Linked DNA regions of Homo sapiens: region 2 is linked to region 1. Evidence: promoter capture Hi-C in human tissues and cell types (Jung and others, 2019). All regions are on one chromosome and are shown on one strand. The core of a region is centred on a gene start or on the middle of the fragment in contact, and the rest is flanking DNA. Distances in the headings are between cores, read along the strand shown. Region 1 holds the start of PCNA (proliferating cell nuclear antigen). Region 2 overlaps SLC23A2 (solute carrier family 23 member 2).

The links. The method cuts DNA at HindIII sites, captures the fragments that hold promoters and counts their contacts. A contact is called where the count stands out against the background at its distance.
Region 2: a fragment that was not itself captured here is called in contact with the fragment with the promoter of PCNA in region 1 in 1 of the 25 tissues and cell types used here (hippocampus).

The regions. Positions count from the first base shown.
Region 1 is chr20:5,118,708-5,126,000 of GRCh38, forward strand. PCNA (proliferating cell nuclear antigen) reads right to left here and starts at 1,251. Exons shown (of 6, transcript NM_182649.2): 1 at 871-1,251; 2 at 62-159. The coding sequence starts at 1,091. It overlaps PCNA-AS1 (PCNA antisense RNA 1), which reads left to right and starts at 879. Exons shown (of 1, transcript NR_028370.1): 1 at 879-1,262. LOC124900464 (small nucleolar RNA SNORA26) reads right to left here and starts at 2,832; the gene lies at 2,710-2,832. RefSeq lists enhancers at 1-705, 445-594, 706-1,586, 1,035-1,204, 1,335-1,784 and a silencer at 785-844. The HindIII fragment of the contact is 20,967 bases long and covers 1-7,293 here.
Region 2 is chr20:4,922,581-4,929,996 of GRCh38, forward strand. All of the region lies in intron 3 of SLC23A2 (solute carrier family 23 member 2), which reads right to left. Among named protein-coding and RNA genes, the nearest start is that of SLC23A2, 75 kb to the right of the region's middle. RefSeq lists an enhancer at 3,623-3,917. The HindIII fragment of the contact is 3,261 bases long and covers 1,765-5,025 here.

The DNA.
Region 1 (7,293 bases), core at 1-2,500:
ATACTGACACAGAGTTTTGATTTTCTGTAGCTTCGTGACTCGGTAAAAAGGTACGACTTACTTGGTGCTTCAAATACTAGCGCCAAGGTATCCGCGTTATCTTCGGCCCTTAGTGTAATGATATCTTCATTGCCGGCGCATTTTAGTATTTTGGACATACTAGAAGACAGGAGACACATGCTTTAAAATCAACGCCGTCTGCTGAAGGGCTGTATTTCGAACGCGGTTAGAAGGGGTTACCACTCTCACCCATCAGGCCGTCTCAGAACTGGTGGAGGGTAAGCGGACTGCTGGAGGATGCCATTATTAATGCAGACGTTTTGGGACGCATCTGGCAGTATTTATACTAAAATACCACCAGCAGTGTCCCTTCTGGATAGAAACAATCTCCTGCCACTAAGTAGGATGACAGGCTGCCACATTTCTCGCAAGGGCATTATAAAGCATTTAAAGTCAACCGCGACTGAGCCGGGAGGATCGCTTGAGCCCAGAAGTTGGAGACCAGCCCGGGCAACACACCGAGACCGTCTCAGAAACAAGAAAGCCACAGCTAAAGCGTCCATTCAAGGCCAACAGGATTTAGTGAGCAAAGAGCCCTGGAACAGTGTTCCTGGCACTGCGGAAAAACCCTTGATTTTCCCGCCACCACCCGCTTTGTGACTTTGGCGCGAAAAAGCAGGTTCGCGCAGCAGCCAGCGCGGGCTTTTCCGAACCGCGCGCTCAGCTGGGCCCCACCCCACTGCGTGGCAGGCCAATGAGAAGGCGCGGATGGCCCACGCCAGCCAATGAGGGCTAGGCTCGAAAGCGCTCCCGCCAAGCACCGGAGGTGCAGGCGGGCCGGGGCCGGCTTCCCGGGGCCGCGAGGCTCACCTGGTGAGGTTCACGCCCATGGCCAGGTTGCGGTCGCAGCGGTAGGTGTCGAAGCCCTCAGACCGCAGGGTGAGCTGCACCAAAGAGACGTGGGACGAGTCCATGCTCTGCAGGTTTACACCGCTGGAGCTAATATCCCAGCAGGCCTCGTTGATGAGGTCCTTGAGTGCCTCCAACACCTTCTTGAGGATGGAGCCCTGGACCAGGCGCGCCTCGAACATGGTGGCGGAGTGGCAACAACGCCGCTACAGGCAGGCGGGAAGGAGGAAAGTCTAGCTGGTTTCGGCTTCAGGAGCCTCAGAGCGAGCGGGCGAACGTCGCGACGACCGGCTGAGACCTAGAAAGACAACGACCACTCTGCTACGCCTGCAACCGTTTAATGCCGCCGCGTCCGCAAGCGCGCGCTCTCACCCTGCGCCGCGTTGCGACGTCACCACGCTGTCCAGCCCACGGCCTTGCGGGGAAGACTTTAGGGCCAATCGTGTCCATGCTCCCCGCGAGGCCCGCCCCCTAGAGCATACATTGGAGGAAGCGGGCGCAGGGCGGGGCAGCGTCGCGCAGGTCTCCCCGCCTCTTTGACTCCTGAACCCGGCCGCAGAACAAGTCCGGGCATATGTGGAGATCGGGTCCCGGTCCCGGCTCGTCAAGCCCCAGCTTTATGGTGGCTCCTCAGCCTCCCACTACGTGGGTAGAAAGTTTCCAGCCACGAAAGTGAAAGTGAAATGCAAATCAAGCCTACCGGGAGGAAAAGCCTCCTTGCAGCCTGAAGAGAGTACAGCTGCTGCAAATATGCACTTTATTTTTCAATTACAGAATTGATGCGCTCGTAGGTGTCACAAGATAAAGAGGTGAATTGTTCTGTTAAACTTAGCTCCCTATCATCCTCTTAACATTCCCCCGCCAGCTCTTATAATCACTCAATCGTTCATTGTATAAAGCTTTTAAAGCTTTTTTAAAAGTTCGAATACACTTTTTTTTTTTCAAAAATGCACTCATTCCGTAAACACTTGGAAAAGTACTTAATAAAGTACATTTAATTTTATGCCACGTACATCTTTTATCATATCAGTACCTCTTTAAAACATAGCATCACATGTATATAACATAATTTATCAATCTCCTGTTGTTTAACTACAAACACCTTTGAGCACTTAGGCAATTTTGGTGATATCAACTCCTTGAAGTAATACAGCTGAGTCAAAGAGCGTACACATTTAATATTTTTTCTTTTCTTTTCCTTTCTTTTTGAGATGGAGTCCTGCTCTGTCATCCAGGCTGGAGTACAGTGGCGCGATCTCAGCTCATTGCAACCTCCGCCTCCCAGGTTCAAGTGAGTCTCCTGCCTCAGCCTCCCGAGTATCTGGGATTACAGGTGCCTACCACCACCCCCGGCTAATTTTTGTATTATTATTATTATTTTTTTTTAGTAGAGACGGGGTTTCACCATGTTGGCCAGGCTGGTCTTGAACACCTGACCTGAGGTGATCCACCTGCCTCGGCCTCTCAAAGTGCTGGGATTACAGGCGTGAGCCACCACGCCCAGCCAGAAATTTTCAATTGTTACAGGATGGACAGGATTTGTTGTTTCTCTCTTGCTTTCTTCACACCACTTCTCTTTAGTTACTTTTAATACCTTGGTCAGCAGAATTCTTTAGTTTTTCTACCATGTATCTAGGTATGGAGTTAGTTTTATTTGTCTTGTTGAGGGAACTGAAGATTCATTTCAAGTCTGACATATTCTCAATCATTATGGCTTCAAATATCTCCTCTCCTTAGTCTATTCTTTATCTCTGGAATGCCTTTCTTTCCTTTTTTTTTTTTTTTTTTTTTTCCTAGTTCAGCTGTGACTCCATACAAGGTTCTAAGATGAGTTTCACAGTCTCTTCCCTGGATTTTGTGGAGACTTAACTTTACCCTTCTGTATCAGCCTCTTAAAGCACTGGGTCAGCCTTAAAAGGGAACAGGAAAGGGCATTTCTATTATAAGATGCCTTCAATTGTAATATGTACCATTATTTTATGTAGCACAAGCAAGAAAACTGTCAAACTTTTTTTTTTATTATTTTCTAGAGAGGGGAGTCTCCCTTTGACACCCAGGCTGGAGTGCAGTGGCAAGATGACTACTCACTGCCACCTCCAACTTCTAGGCTCGAGAGATCCTCTTGCCACCTCCCAAATAGCTGGGACTACAGGGGTGCACCACTGTACCTGGCTAATTTTTAAATGTTTTTGTAGAGAGAAGGTCCCACTATGTCGCTCTGGCTGGTCTCCAACTCCTGGGCTCAAGCAATCTTCCCAATCGGTCTCCCAAAGTGTGAGATTACAGGCATGAGCCACTGTGCCCAGCCTCAAACTGTTACACAATGCTTTATCACTTAGAATTTCTTTTTTTTTTTCTTTTTCTTTTTCTTTTTTTTTTTTCTGAGACAGAGTCTCACTCTATCACCCAGGCTGGAGTGCAGTGGTGTGATCTTGGCTAACCGCAATCTCCGCCTCCTGGGTTCAAGCAATTCTCATGCCTCAGCCTCCTGAATAGCTAGGATTACAGGCATGCGCCATCACACCTGGCTAATTTTTGTATTTTTAGTAGAGACGGGGTTTTGCCATGTTGGCCAGGTTGGTCTTGAACTCCTGACCTCATGTGATCTGCCTGCCTTGGCCTCCCAAAGTGCTGGGATTACAGGCATGAGCCACCGCGCCCGGGTCTATTTTGTTTTAAAAGAACTTTTAGACTTTAAAAACATTCTTATTATATATTACTCTTGTGCAAACATGAAAAAATTTAAGCTACATTGGTTAAGGCATTCCTACTGTTTCTCCACTCAGTTAGTTGCTGATTCTGCTGTTTTTCTGTATAATATCCTACTCTGTGTTGTCAAGGGTATTGATGATGCAGTATTTTTCAATAGTGCTATTCTATTGTCTCTGGAATTTCTTGCAAGCCTCTGCTACTCATTTGTAAGTTTTGATGTTGGCACTTTCTTGCTTTATGTGTGATGGACTACCCATTTGCATACATCTCAATATCAAAACATAATACAGCATCATCTGTTTGTGGTTCTTTTCCTTTCTTGGGTCCGTTAAAATCTCAGTTCCTTTGCAAAATGTGGAATGTGTTCCTTCCTCCAGTGAGGAACATTTGCTTCACTAAAAACAAATGCATATGCTCCACTACTCTGTTTCAGTTCTGTCTGCTTACATAATAACATTTTGGTTTAATGCCAAATTACATGTAATAGATTTGAAGACATTTTAAATGACAAACTCTATCCATGGGGGATCCACCATGTACATCAATCTGTTTATTTCTGCTCTATTACAGAAGTGATGTCCTCCTAAAAGTGTCAAATGATAAAGAGGTGTACAGTTACGTAAATTTTATGTTAAACTGAAATGAGGACATAAACATGCCTATGACTGTGGTCAGAGAAGGCCTCTCTGAGGAGGTAGCATCTTATCAGAGAAGACAGCTGCTTGGAGAGTTGGAAAAAAGCATTCTAGGCTGAGAGAATAGCATGATTATAAAGGTCAGCATACTTGGAATATATTCAGACAAGTTTGATGTAGAACTCAGACTGATGTGTCTGAAGCAAGAGTGGTGCAAGGTGAGGTTGCAGAGAGGCTGGGGTGAGCTCTTGCAGGACTTTGTAGGCTCTCTAAAAGTGCAAGGGAATGTGGTCAACAGCAGATCTTTGATGTGATCCAATTTACATTTTAAGTGGCTACTCTAACATCTAGTAAAGGTACTATTGGATCAGTGGGAGAAAGAATGAAGTAAATTTTGATCAGATAATTGGTTAAACTATTAGAAAAGAATAAAAGCTGTAGACTTTTCTGGATGGGCGCAGTGGCTCATGCCTGTAATCCCAGAACTTTGGGAGGCTGAGGTAGGTGGATCATCTGAGGTCAGGAGTTCGAGACCAGCCAGGCCAACATGGTGAAACCCCGTCTCTACTAAAAATACAAAAATTAGCTGGGCGTGGTGGTGCACACCTGTAATTCCAGATACTAGGGAGGCTGACGCAGGAGAATTGCTTGAACCCGGGAGGCAGAGGTTGCAGTGAACCAAGATTGCGCCACTGTACTCCAGCCTGGGTGACAGAGCAAACCTCCATCTCAAAAAAAAAAAAAAAGACTTTTCCTAATAATTATTCACTAAATTCTAGATAAAGAATTCAAATTCAAATCTTGACCCAATAAGAAATGGAAAAATATTTTGGTAAATATTTATGAGATCTTCCTATGGGCTTCCAAACATAAGAAAAAAACCCATAAAACATAATGAATAACCATACAAGTTTTAAGACTTCAGTATGCCTCAAAGGATTATATTGGTTAGTATAGTTTAGGTTTCAGTGACAGAGAACTCAACTTGAATGGATTAAGAGAAATAGAAAATTTATTCATCTAAACAAAAAGCCAGAGGTATCTGGCCTCCACTGTCCAGTCCTAGTCTTCATAAACGTGAAGTTTGTTAGCCACATTAATAAGCAAAGAAATGTAAATTCAATGGAGACAGAATTTTAACCTACCAAATTAATAAAAATCATGTTAACACCTGGTGTGTTAGGAAGGATTCAAGGAAGTAGGCACTTAAATACATTGCAAGTGGGAGTATACATTGGTATAATTTTTCTGGTGGAAACTTAGAAATGTGTATCAAAAGCCTTAGAATTTTACTTATTCTTTGACACAGAAATTCGATCTCTAGGGTTTTTTCCTACAGAAGAAATCAGGGGCATTTACCAAGATCAAGCATGCTTAAGAATGTTTCTTGAGCCAGGTGCAGTGGCTGATGCCTGTAATCCCAGCACTTTGGGAGGCCCAGGTGGGCGGATCACCTGAGGTCAAGAATTCAAAACCAGCCTGACCTAAAACCCCTGTCTCTACTAAAAATACAAAAATTAGCCAGCTGTGGTGGCGGGCGCCTGTAGTCCCAGCTACTCGGGAGGCTGAGACAGGAGAATTGCTTGAACCTGGGAGGCGGAGGTTGCAGTGAGCCGAGATCACACCATTGCACTCCAGCCTGAGCAACAAGAGGGAAACTGTCTAAAAAAAAAAAACAAAAAACAAACAAAAAGAAAACAAAAAACGAAAAGAGAGAGAGAGAAGGGCTCTAAAGCTGGCCTAAAGCCCTATTAGCATCACTTCCACCAGACCCCTGTTCGTCACACAGTACTGACTTCAGGAATATACTTGATCTGAGTTCCATTAACCTGAGAGGGCTGAGTGTAATGGATGAGAAGTTTGTTCAGACCACATGTTATCCATCCTAGTAATCATGCTGTGCATTCTATAATTCTGACTTATGTGCATTGATTCTCCAAGCCTCCTTTTATTAGGCTGGATTTGAAAAGGAGCAGCTGAGTTTCTAGAAGGACTGACATGACACTCACTTAGATATGACCTTTCATACCTACGTGCCCCTGAAGGTGAAGTTCTAGACACTAACATCTTCACCTGTCTTAGAAGATCATCTTGCTCGAGTGCTGTGGCTCATGCCTGTAATCCCAGAACTTTAGGAGGCCTATGTGGGAGGATTGCTCGAGCCCAGGAGTTTAAGACCAGCCTAAGCAATAAAGTGAGACTTCATCGCTACACAAAAATTTAAAAGTTAGCTGGGTGTGGTGCTGCACACCTGTAGTCCAAGCTACTCGGGCATATACTCATATAGAAATCAGGAATATATAATGCTGTTTTCAGAATTCTCACTACCTGCCCCAAAACTCACAGCTCAGGTCAAAATTACCAATAGGAAATTTTAGCCAGGCATGGTAGCTCATGCCTGTAATCCCAGCACTTTGGGAGACCTAGGCGGGAGGATCTCTTGAACCCAGGAGTTCAAGACCAGTCTGGGCAACATAGTGAGACCCTGTCTCTAAAAAAAGGAGAAATAAATTAATTAAAATTTAAAAATTGAAAAGAAGAAAAATGTAAAATTATATTTTTTTAAAAAACGAAATTGCAATTCTTTTGTGTGCAAGTGTCTCATTGTGAGATTACAGTATGCTTAAGTTGGGGACGCAGTGTTATATGTGTTTTACATCACTTACAGGGCAGTGAATAGAAAGAACAGGAAACACCAAAGGCAATGCTGGAGCAACACAAGTATTAATAAATGCAGGCAGGCAGTATAGTATGGTGGTTAGAGTGTGGGCTGGTAACAAACCTGTTTGTGTTCTAATTCTTACTAGGCACTTTCTAGCTGGGAGACCTTGGCTAAGGTCCTTTTAAAAGTTTTAAATCCATCCAACAAGTACTTACAATGGATGTGTCAAAGACATAGAGGATGCACAGTAAACAAAGTAGACAGCACTTCTGTCCCAAAAAAGGTCTTTCCATAGTCCAGAAGACAAATTTGAAAAACTGAGGAAGGGCCAGGCTCGGTGGCTCACGCCTGTAATCCCAGCACTTTGGAAGGCGG
Region 2 (7,416 bases), core at 2,145-4,644, 190 kb before region 1:
CTTTGGGAGGCCGAGGCAGGAGGATCACTTGAGGTCAGAAGTTTGAGACCATCCTGGCCAACATGGTAAAATCCAGTCTCTACCAAAAAATACGAAAATTAGCTGGGCATGGTCGTGCATGCCTGTAGTCCCAGCTAGCTACTTGGGAGGCTGAGGCACAAGAACTGCTTGAACCCGGGAGGCAGAGGCTGCAGTGAGCCAAGATCACGCCACTGCACTCCAGCCTGGGTGACAGCAAGACCGTGTCTTTAAAAAAAAAAAAGCACACACACACACACACACAAGTAAGAGATGGCCAGAATGCTGATCAACTTCGTAAGCCTGCTATAGTAAGAGACTGTAGCAAGAACCTCTTACTATTTTCATTCGTAACAAATTGTGTGTCTCCCAACTATTAGATGTGTACTTTGTATTACTAACATCTCTCATTTCATTTAAAACTACCAAAACTCTGTTCAAATTAAAAGTATATTGCAATATGATAAACTTATCTGAAACCTCAAAACCAGAGGAAAAAAAATTAATTTTTAAGTTAAAAATCTAGGACTGGGTGTGGTGGCTTATGCCTGTAATCCCAGCACTTTGGGAGGCCAAGGTGGGAAGACTGCTTGAGCCCAGGAGTTCGAGACCAGCCTGGGCAATGTAGCGAGACCCCATCTTGAAGGGAGGGAGGCAGGGAGGGAGGGAGGGAGGGAGGGAGGATGGATAAGGAAAAGAACATCTTACCATGCACAAAAATCTTCACTTGCATCCCATCGTTTTGATGTTTTCATTTCAAAGCATATATTGGCATATTCCTTTTCTAACACTTTTTCCCCCCAACTTACAAATTTTAAAACAGAAAAGGGTGCTCATCTTGGTTGTTCCACTTCAAGCTGTTAAGGGCATCCCCTGCCTAAATCATGGCCATTATGCAGTATATTAAAACTCTCATCTTACAGAAATAGGAGAATTAAACCAATTCCCTGGGCCGACTCCAGGAAACAGTCTCTCTTCATCCTCAGGCCCTTCTTGGAATCATAGTCAATTCCAAAATCTATTATTCTTACAGAAAGAACATTTTCCCAGACAACTATTATTACCATCCAACTGAGACTTTTCGTTTTAAGATCTAAGTACTCCAAACTCTCTATTTAGGGATGTACAAAAAGGAACTTCACAGCACCTGGTACGAAAGTCACAAGAACAAGGACATGTTCTGGGCTTCTTTGCTTGGTTTTTAGAATGAAGGTAGTTGCACCAAAAAGCCTTTTTGCCTTCTTTTCACTGCTGAAAAGGGGCATGTTCAAATCTGTCATCACATAGTCAGGGGTTTAGAGGAACTGAAGCAGCCATTAAATGGTTTCTTCACTGTACCTCCCTACATCTTTCTGCCAAGGCCACTTGTCTTAAAGAAGGGATGGGAAGGAAACAGAAAAGGAAAGAAAGGAGCATGGGTCCCTGATCCTGGTGGCTGCCCTCCTCCCCTCCGCTCTGGGGCATCCTCACATCCCTGCATCCTTGCACAGCACAGCTCTGAGCCGCATCGCCACTCTGTCCTGCTCACCTCCTGCCTGCTAGGCACACCCATCAGGACACAGCCCCACAGGCCCCAGGTCTCCTCCTGAAGCTCCTTCCAGGAGTCTCTTCCAGGACAGCAACTTGCCCCTTCTTTTCAAAGCTCTCGGCCACACCTCCAGCCAACCCTTCCTCCACTGTGGCTCCTCCCCGTCCTCCCTCTGGAGTCAGAGTTTCTCCTGACATACTTTTCAACGCCTGGAATGGGTGTCTCTTTCTGAAGGGACTTGCCCCCACCCTCATCCAGCCCAAAAGCACAGAAACTAGGTCTGCTCCAGAGCCTGGTGGCTTCTCCCACCTCCACATGGCAAGCACCCAGGATGCAGCTGCTGTCAGCACACCTGTCCTAGGGCCACCAGCTCCTGCCTGGCCTCCTGCTTTTCCTTTCAGCCTACTCCCCACTAGGCAGAGCATGTCACATCTCTGCTCAAAGGCCTCCAAAGGTTTTTTTCAGGCCAACACCCTGGTGAGGCCCACAAGACCTATGGAATCTCTGGTCAATGCCCATCCTGGTGGAGCAACACCAGGCACCCCCCTGCTGTGGGGCCTTTGCCCTTGAGGCCCACATGCAGGCTTCCCACAACTCCTCCAGGACTTTACTCAAAGGCCGCCTTCTTGGTGCAGCCTTTCCTGGCCGCCTGAATTTTCAGCATCCATACCTCTACCTTATTTTTTTCCCTAGTGTTTGTCAATATCTAACATCTACACATTTGACTTATTTCTATTGTGGATTGCCTGTCTCCCACACCAGAATGAAAGCCCTGTGGCCAGGCAAAGTGGCTCCCACCTGTAATCCCAGCACTTTGGGAGGCTGAGGCAGAAGGATTGCTTGAGCTCAGGAGTTTGAGATCAGTGACATAGTTAAGACCTTGTCTCTACAAAAAAAAAAAATTAAAAATCAGCTGAGCACAGTGGCATGTGCCATATTTCAGCTACTCAGGAGGCTGAGGTGGGAGGATGGCTTAAACCCAGGAGGTTGAGGCTGCAGTGAGCCATGATGATGACACTGCACTTCAGCCTGAATGATAGAGCAAGACTCTGTCAAAAAAAAAAAAAAAAAGGATGGAAACTCATGGATTTTTGTCTGTCTGTTCATTGCTGTTCTCTAGAGCCCAGACCTGTGAGTGGCACACAGTTCCTATTTTTAAAAGGACAAATTAATGAATGGCTTGCAGGTCCTGTATGATCACTGTCTGACCTCACATTCTATTTCTCACTATTCCCCTCCCTGATTTATTTTTCTTCACAGAATTAGTGACCAGCTGCCACAAGATTGACGTATTTGCTTGTTTCTTTACTGTTTTTCTCCTCCCACCATCACTAGGAGGCCAATTCCAGGACAGAGCCTCACGCAAAGCAGGTGCCCAATAACCATCTGCTGAATGGAAGAATTCCTTTCCTCCGCACTTTCCAGGTCAGGTCACTGTCGGCTCACACCTGGACTGCGTAAGCACCCTAACTTGCCTTCCTATCTCCAGACCCTTCCTGCCCCGGCACCCACCGCAGGAATTTCCTACCCCAAAACGAGCAAATTTACTATGACCTCTCCTCAGCATCCCTGCTGCTCATCTCCACCTCCACTGTACTCTGCACTAAACTTGCGCCCCAAGCAGGACACTGCCATGCACACCCTCAGCTGAGAGGCCTTCAGTCTCCCTCCTCTTGACCTACTATACCTAGACATTTTTTAGGAGTTCCATGTTATCTCCCCTGGGAACCTTCATCTGACCGGCAAGGCCCACCCTACAACACGACTGGGCAAGGGTCTCACGTGGACACTATCACAGCACCCGTGCAGAATTCAAACCCTAACACTGATGGTATGCTGGCTGTCTTGCCATATGTCCCCCACTGGGCTGTAAGCAGCTGGTTACCAGGTATGTGCACCAGACACATTTAATCAATGGAGGAACGTGAGGCTGTGGGCTCTTCCCATTACATGTTCTGAAGAACACACACCAAGGTAAGATGAGAAGTGGTCGGTTCTTATGAACACCCAGGAGTATTTCTCCCACTCTCTGGTAAGACTAAACCTCATAAAGTTACTCGTCGGTCCATGCCGCTAATATCTCCAGACAGAATAATCTACTCTTGATACCCAAATATTCTCACAAAGGCTGTTAAAAGAAATAAAAGCTTAAGGAAGCTTAAACGCTTTCCCTGACTCTGAATGATGACGCACTGAAACAACAGGCTGTGTGTGTCACAGCCGTGCCTGTGCCAACAGGAAGTTTGGGCTGTTAACTGGGCTTCCAGGTTTAGGTGGTCCAAGAACTGCTGAGCAAACACACAGCCTTTTTCTGGCCGTGCTTCCTGTCTGTACTTTGGGATCAATGTCCCTAGGGTACGATCGTTCATCAGAATTTTTTTTGCTTTTTTTTTTTTTTTTTTTTTCCTGATTCCTGTTTCTTGCCATGGGCATTCACCCCTATTTACGCATTTCCTAGCTGGCTTTAAAACATAAGAATTTGCCTAACTAGAGTCCTGTGGGATAAGAAGAAGATCTTTTGCTATGTTCCCCCTATTTGATATCAACTCTGACCACATGATCTAATTTCCATGAGTCCTGGGGCCTGGCACATCTCTTGTTCTTACTTTGACCTAGTGGACATTCTACTTCTAAGTATGGATTTGTTCTTTTTCTTTGTAAAATGTTTGTGTGGGTGTTTTGTTTTATTTTGTTTAAAGATCTGGGAAGCACTCATCCAACACAGGATGCCTAAGAGAATCTCTAAAGATAAGATCCTTATCAGCCACACACCCCACCTCCCTTTCCAGGAGACACCCCACAAGCCTGGTTCTCAGCAACGGCCAGATTTGGTTACTGGTGCCCAACCACGCTGCACTCCAGCACACCTTTCTCTAGATGCCTTAACAGCTGACAGCCTAAAGCCCAGCTTTGGATTCTGAGGCAAATGAGAAAATAAGAGCCAACATTTCAGCCTCGCAAGGCCCTAACCAGCAAGCAGAGATGGGCTAGCCACTAGCCACGTGTGGCTATGGAGTACTTGACGAGTGCAACTAACGAAGTGAATTTCAGGTTTTATTGAATAGTATTTAATTTAAATGTAAACGTCACATGTGACTAGCAGCCATGATGCTGGACAGTACAGATCCAGACAAAAAGATAAAACCCAGAGCTGCCATGCTGGCTATTCTTCAATATTTACATTTGCAAAGGCCAGAATGAAACAAGGCACTAGCATGCAGCAATGTCCTGGCATGATCCTCCCTGTCACTCATGTGTGGGTATACCCAACGGTGAGACCCTCAACCCTATCTTCCTCTGCCAGCTCTGCCTGCCAGCAGCACCCTCTCACACGGGTCAGTCACCACCCACATGAGCCATCACAGTGAGTCTTTACAGCTCTCCTGATCTCTATGTGTGTCAAGTCCCACACCCCCACTGCCTGCAGGCTCTAGGAGCACCGCAGTTCAAATCCACAACTTCTCAAATAAAACCCATCATCTTCCATCTTCCCCACCCTCCAAACTTATGGTTTTCCCTAGACTTCATATTTTCTCCAAAGCCAACATATACCCAATCAGGTTCTTCTGTATAAAATCTTGATGAGAATCCGAAACATCTCCTTCTTTGGCCCTCAAAACCTCCTATCACCTCTTCTATCAGCCTCACCTCTGTTCTTACTATTCCCATGCCTTTGGTATCTCCCAGACCCACCAATTCTTCCTGTGCTACCCCACTGCCCCTGCCTCCAACCAGCTGCCCCCACACTAATCCCATCCATCAGGCAATGGGAAGCGACCCACTGTAACTTAGTCCCCTCACTTTTTCCCTGTCAATGGGCAAATCATTCAAAATGGTCTTCTACTTTAAAAGTTGACTTAGGGTAGCAATTTCACTAGTGATTAAATACGGGCAGTACTGTGTTCCTGTTCTTATTTTATATATATTTTGGAGACAGGGTCTTGCTCTGTCACCAAGGATGGCATGCAATGACACAACTGCTAACTCACTGCAGCCTCAAACCTCTGGGCTCAAAGAATCCTCCCATCTCAGTCTCCCAAGTAGGTAGGACTACAGGCATGCACCACCACGTCCAGCTAATTTTTAAATTTTTGGTATGAATGAGGGTCTCGCTATGTTGCCATGGCTGGTCTTGAACTCCTGGCTGCAAGTGATCCTCCCACCTTGGCCTCCCAGAGTGCTGAGATTACAGGCCTGAGCATCCGCACCCAGCCTATAACATGTTTTCTAACAAAACTATCCACAACCCAAAACTCCATCCCACAAACTATTCCTTTGTAAACATTCTTTGATGAGGTTTTGTTTTCGTGTTTTCCTTCTTTTATGTAATCTACTTTATCTTGAGCTTTGGGAGTTCAGACTAAGGTTCATCTTGGCATCCCTGACACCAAATCATCCTGGGAGCTCATGTTTGGACTCTCTGCCATCTCTATCCTTGGCATTTCTCCCCTCCCAGCAGCTCCATCCCATGATTCCAGCTCTATTCCTACTCTTTGTAGTTCAATTTAGCATAATTTTAAAAACTATTTTCTTCCCCTTTTAAGGCTTCCTTTTATAGCCCTAGACTGGGATAAAAATTCCATAACATCCTTAATTAAATGGCTCTACTGTTAAATCAACTTTATAATTAACATCATATTTACACCCAACTATGGCTTACGTCCACATTCCCAGCTCCCATGCTCTCACAGGGACTCCTACTTAGGTTGGATCTGGAAATTAATGCTGTGAGCAGTATTCCTTCCCAACCCTGCCCTAAAAAATGTAACAGGGATAGAGGGAAAAACCTCAAAATAGGCAAGCTTAAAAAGACAAACATTTCCGTACGCAAGAAACATGTATGGGCTGGGCACGGTGGCTCACGCCTGTAATCCCAACACTTTGGGAGGCTGAGACAGGTGGGTCACTTGATCTCAGGAGTTCCAGACTAGCCTGGCAACATGCAGAAATGCCATCTCTAAATTTAAAAAATATATATATACACAAAAATGTAGCCAGGCCCAGTAGCACGTACCTGCAGTCCTAACTACTCAGGAGGCTGAGGTGGGAGGATCACCTGAGCCAAGGAGGTCGAGACTGCAGTGAGCTGTGATTGCTCCACTGCACTCCAGCCTGGGCAACAGAATGAGACCCTGTGTAAAAAAAAAAAGAAAAGAAAAAGAAAAAAAAAACACTTATGGAAAAAAATGGGGCTGACACTGGGACCTGCTGGGCTGAGCCTGGAAGCCCTAAGCCAGGCAGCCTCGGCTCCAGCAGGGGAACAAGGTGGGGGCTGAACCAGGCCAGGCAGGCTTCCCCACTCTTCCATGCCATGGTTGGCAACCCTGGGGAAGACAACGAGGGCTCCACCCTAGGGTCTGCCTCTGGACTGGATCCATAATGAGAAGACACAAACCCCACAGAAGCACAGAGAAAGAGATGAAATTCCTGGAAGATTCCAGATGGAAAGAGAACTAGGGAGGGACTTCATATAGTATATCAGGGTTCCCAATGATTTAAATGAAGTCACATTTAAAAGAAACACATATATATAAGAAATTAAGGACCAAAAATAGGCAGAAGTTAACCAAATAAAAATTTTAGAAGAAGTATAATTATTGCAATAAGAATTCAACACAAATACATGACTGTATACAAAAAATAAGTAAACCGGAAAATACTGAAGGACTCATCCAGAAGGCAGTGCTGGAAGAGGATACCCAAATCATTAGAGAAAGCAGCTAAAGAGAAATGAGGACAGGCTGGAAGGCTGGGCCGTATCATTCACAGAAGTCTGTGTAATAGTGGAGGGCAAACTACAATTATTTCCAGATGTAGAAAGACTAAGATGGTGACCATCCACAGACCATCAGTGTATCTTAAATGAAAAG